2 separate regions of the Homo sapiens genome follow, and region 1 is linked to region 2. The links are contacts of gene promoters, found by promoter capture Hi-C in blood cells and fetal thymus (Javierre and others, 2016). All regions are on one chromosome and are shown on one strand. Each heading gives the region's core, a stretch centred on a gene start or on the middle of the fragment in contact. The rest is flanking DNA. Distances are from core to core; before and after follow the strand shown. Region 1 has its middle 80 kb from the start of BIRC3. Region 2 holds the start of MMP13 (matrix metallopeptidase 13).

What was found. Contacts are between HindIII fragments. The CHiCAGO score rates a contact against its expected background, and 5 or more counts as called.
Region 1: a fragment that was not itself captured here is called in contact with the fragment with the promoter of MMP13 in region 2 in 1 of 17 cell types (M0 macrophages); the score reaches 5.2 in M0 macrophages.

What each region holds. Positions count from the first base shown.
Region 1 is chr11:102,235,727-102,238,426 of GRCh38, forward strand. No RefSeq gene overlaps it. Among named protein-coding and RNA genes, the nearest start is that of BIRC3, 80 kb to the right of the region's middle. The HindIII fragment of the contact is 3,342 bases long and covers 1-2,700 here.
Region 2 is chr11:102,954,482-102,957,181 of GRCh38, forward strand. MMP13 (matrix metallopeptidase 13) reads right to left here and starts at 1,251. Exons shown (of 10, transcript NM_002427.4): 1 at 1,105-1,251; 2 at 771-1,012; 3 at 1-125. The coding sequence starts at 1,224. RefSeq lists an enhancer at 684-1,883. The HindIII fragment of the contact is 7,221 bases long and covers 1-1,757 here.

The DNA.
Region 1 (2,700 bases), core at 95-2,594, 720 kb before region 2:
TGCCACTGAAAGCAATTATTTGGAGACCTCTTAGCAAAGGGTCTACTTCTGTAAAATTTTTGAACACCTAGTCTAGTTAACTTAAAAACAAACTTTAACTGTTAAAGAAACAAGAACTAGAGGTACTGTAACTTTGTGAAATTGGTATTGGTTTGCACTCAGTTAGTGGACAGGGCTTGATTTTTTTGTAAAAGGAACTTGTAAAAACTTCTTAGGGTTGTGACATACCTTTCCCCACGTTTCCTTACATCTTGTCCCAGGTATATTTTTGTGGAATTATAGTTCCCACGACCTTCATAGAATCTATATAAAATATGAGTTAAACTTCACATTTGGTTGTAATTTTACTTGGGATATTATTAGAAGCCACATCTCAGTTCTTTTTTTTTTTTTTTTTCTTTTTTTGAGACGGGGTCTCGCTCTGTCACCCAGGCTGGAGTGCAGTGCCGCAATGTCAGCTCACAGCAACCTCCACTTCCTGGGCTCAAGCAGTTCTCGTGCCTCAGCCTCCCAAGCAGCTTGCGCCACCCACCCAGCTAATTTTTGTATTTTTTGTAGAGACGTGGGGTTTCACCATGTTGTCCAGGCTGGTCTCAAACTCCTGAGCTCAAGTAATCAATCTGCCCACCTCCACCTTCCAAAGTGCTGGGATTACAGGCCTGAGCCACCACGCCGTGCCCCACATCTCAGTTCCTTTTAAAGCATTTGTTCTGTTTCAAATCGGGTTTTTATGTTACAGTGGATTTACACAATTAAAATGATAGCATATCTGGCAAACTTGAACTAATTTTCTCAAGGATCTGGATTAAATGGCAGGATCTGAGAGAAAATCTCCTGTCTATCAGTGCTATCACCAAGAGCTACTGAAGCCAGCTACTCAAAGCTGAGCTTCACTAGTGATGCAGCCATTGGGAAACCTAGCTAAAGACACTTCCTCCTCCTTCAGGGAACCTCTCAGCAACTTGTATTTGGCACTTTTTTCTACTGAATAAGAGGTAAAGCCTGGCACGGTGGCTCACGCCTGTAATCCCAGCAATTTGGGAGGCCAAGGCAGGCAGGTTACCTGAGGTCAGGAGTTCAGGACCAGCCTGGACAACATGGTGAGACCCCGTATCTACTAAAAATACAAAAATTCGTTGGCTGCGGTGGCAGGCAGCTGTAATTCCAGCAACTGGGGAGGCTGAGGCACGGAGAATTGCTTGAACCCAGGAGGCGGAGGTTGCAGTGAGCTGAGATCGCGCCACTGCATTCCAGCCTGGGCAACAGAGCGAGACTCTGTCTCAGGGGGAAAAAAAAAAAAGGAAGAGGAGGTAAACACATCTGCAGGCAGAGTTCAGCAGAGGCATCTGCCTCATGGGCTGTAGCCCAGTGGATTCTAAATGATACTAGGATCACAACTAGATAAGACTGATCACTTGGATGACCGTGAATTAAGACCTTAGATTTTATAAGAGATACAATGGCTCATATTCAGGGACAGCCAGACTGTTAGGTAATTTGAAGTCACACCACAAAAACCACATGTGCATCATCTTCCAAAAGGAGGCCATTTGCTGAGGTGTTTTGTCTCTGAGCACTAGTAAGTCTGTTGAGCCCTGTAAAATAATCCCAAATGGGACTGCCCAGTGAAGAATGTGGACTTGAGATTTAGTTGTTCTTTTACAGTCCAAATCATTGAAAGACAGCATAGCTTTTCTGTATTCTAGGCCAAAGGAATTTCTGTGGAATTCTGCTATGGGAGTTTCAGAAAACCAGCCTAAGCCCATTTAGTGTCATTCAGAAAACAGCTGATGCTTCATTGAGGGGCAGCGGGCGGGGATGGGGGTGACGGGTGCTTAACAGCCAACTCACAGCTCACCTTCGAGGCCACATCTTTATCTGGAATGCAGTGGCAAACCCTACCCCAAATTCAGGATGTTGCTGAGGAAATTTTCCACTGATTTGAGCTAAAACTTTGACTAAATCCCTATCAGTCTTCCAAAATCACTGAAGAAAAATTCTCAATACCTGAACATCTCCAGTGTTCTCATAGTTTTGTTGTTCTATCCTGGTCACTATGACAAATTTGAAAGGCAGATTATTCCAATTAAGTTGGTGTCCCACTGCCATCACTTACTGTGGGATTTGGAGTCTCTCAGACTTTTTCTCCATCAGGGGTAAAGTGAACGTACTACAATTTGCACTATCTCAAGACACTGATAAAGAAGATCAAAGTGTTATAAAAGCAACTGGTAAACCGTTAACATTCCTTAAAAGTGATACTGTATTTTAAAATCACTATGACCTTTTCTCAATATCATCTTGTTTAAAGACATAGTATTATTGAATAATTCAAAATAGTCCTTCAAACTTGAGTAGGTCTACCCAGGGCATCTGCATAAGTACATGAGGCTCTGTCTTGTTCTGTCATTAAGATGCACACCATCTTCAATTTTATAAGTATGCTATTTGTTTTTCAGTATTTTAATATTCTGTAATTACTGAGATGCTCCCACATATGATCTCCTTGTTTGGTCATACCAAGATCAAATAAGACATAATTATTACAATTCCTAATTGTGTGCCTCAAACCTAGGTTTAAATCCCACACTATGGCTGTGAGATGACTAGAAGTTGAGGGGGTAGCCCATAACTGGAAAATGCTTTCTGTATACAAGGCTAACCGTATTCCCTGGGGCTCAAAATTGTCTTCTCAGTTAT
Region 2 (2,700 bases), core at 1-2,500:
TGTCAGCAATGCCATCGTGAAGTCTGGTAAAATTCAGAGGAGTTACATCGGACCAAACTTTGAAGGCTTTTTTGAATGCCTTTTCGACTTCAGAATGAGTCATATCAGGGGTGTAATTCACAATTCTATTTAACAGAGAAAGTTTCAATGAACTTTTTGGAAAGTGACAGCTATTTTAGAATACATTTTCTTGGTATATTGCTTTTCAATTCAAAATGCAATAATTTCTTTGAAAGTTCTACTAGAGGTTTATTGTTTCAAATAATGTATTAATTATGATGCCATACAAGAATAAAAAGTCAAAAATTCAGCCACATTTGAGTATCTCCAAATATCTGACCATGTGGCATCTTAAATTTAAAATATTCCAATGTTTAATATAATTTATTTTGCATGCTAAAAGTTTAGATTACATTGATAAAGCTCAAATAAATGAAATAGCTCTGTAAAGTTTCTAGAAAGAGTGGAACTCTTCATCTTGAGCACTGTTGTAATAAATACACCTAATGTACTATGTTTGCAAATTTTCTTTAACCTACTTTTATTTCTCTTTTGATTTCATCTCTAAAAGAAATACTTTGAGATGCCCACTAAAAAATAATGCTGAGTTAATGTAACAATAATAGATGTTATGAGGTATTCTCGGCAACCATATTAAAGCTATTCTGGAATTTAACTGCCAATTAAATAATAAGGCCTACTTAATATTAGACATTTAATACTACAAGAAAAGGCTAACAAATATGAAAGAAAGATAGCCTATGATTTACCTGTAGGTTAAATTCATTTTGGACCATTTAAGAGTTCGAGGGAAAACATTGTATTCACCCACATCAGGAACCCCGCATCTTGGCTTTTTCATGACATCTAAGGTGTTATCGTCAAGTTTGCCAGTCACCTCTAAGCCGAAGAAAGACTGCATTTCTCGGAGCCTCTCAGTCATGGAGCTTGCTGCATTCTCCTTCAGGATTCCCGCGAGATTTGTAGGATGGTAGTATGATCTCAGGTAGCGCTAGAAAAGACACCAAAATGAACTGCGTTTAAAAGAGAAGGACATTTCTGAGATGTACCAACCGCATCATCAGGATTGGCAAGATACTCTACCTCTGCAAACTGGAGGTCTTCCTCAGACAAATCATCTTCATCACCACCACTGGGAAGGGGCAGGGCCCGACAATGAGTCCAGCTCAAGAAGAGGAAGGCAGCCAGGACCCCTGGATGCATCTTGAATGGTGATGCCTGGGGACTGTTGTCTTTCCGCAGAGATTACCTTTACTTTTATAGGCCTGCAATGGTGAGTCATCACTTATGGATAGGTTTCCACTTCCCAGTCACTTGAAGGTAAACATGCTTACGTGGCGACTTTTTCTTTTCCCTCCCGAGTGTGGTTTGTGGTAGAATTTGAGGGAAATATAAATGAGAGCATCTCTTGTTTCAGCAGGGTCTCAAAACCCATCTGGCAAAATAAACGGCCTCAGCATATTTATGGATACTGTGGGAAGAAGCAGAGAGTAGTACATTTTTTACTTCACTTAGCAAAATTTTTTTTTTTTTGCCTTCTGTAAGAACGTATCTACTTTTGCTTCTTCGAATAATAAGTGTATCAAGATGGCATGTTTACTTCCATAAAGAGAAACTTAGTACTGATTCTAGAATGTTTACTACTGCCTGGTAAATTATAAACTGCATTTTCTCTAGAATAACTACAGAGAGATGTCTTGTGTCTACCTGAAGTTCACGATATTGGACCAAAACCAAGCTTGATGACTTGGAGGTGCTACGGCACAACCGCAGGATTGAGCCCCATGGTTGGAATTTAAACACACTGGCATGACCTCTCGACAAATATGGAGTCCTGCATAAATTCCCTACAGATTCAGACAGAGGTAGAAGAATTACATTGGAACGGAACAACTGTAATGGCTAGCACAAACAGGGATTACTGCATTCTAGGTTTAAAAGGCATTATCTCATTTAATCCTTACAACAGCCACATAGGTGCTGTCAGAAAGCTTGTTTTCCATTTTACATATGAATAATCTGATACACTGAGAAGTTAAATACTTGTATACGGTCATATAGTTTATAAATGATACCAGGATTTGAACCTAGGCCAATAACTCAAAACTCAATGTTCTTGACCACCGTCCCTGTCTAATTATGACCTCCACCCTTTCCATTCTCAGATATTTTCTTAAAAGCTGAGCTGTTTGGTTCCTACACCTCAGGGAGTGCCCAAGAAAACTAGGGCTGCAGTAGGCCAATTTCAAGTTTCTCAATTTTTAAGTTTGAATAATAGAAGTAATCTTGGTCCAACCATCAGGAAAATAGTCCTAGGGGCCTCTACCCTATTATTCCTTTCAGAACATCACACATTCAGTACCGTGAAATCAAAGTGCCATCTTTGGTCCCCTGCAGAAGTAAATGGGTAGAGCAATATAGGCCATGATCTTTGGATTTATTGGACTTCTTTAAATAAATGATTGGAAATGCAGGTTAATTTGAGTGACTAAGAGTCAGAAAGAAAATGCTGCTCAGGTCAGGAACATAGTAAGACAAAGAGAAGGAGCATGAATACAGCTTTAGGGTGAGTACGAAATGGGTATCCTAACATATGAGTAAAATCCTATAATCTAGAGTAGCCAGTGCCTTAGAGAAAAATCAGAAAAGCCTACAACATGTATGTGATCATTTGAGGGA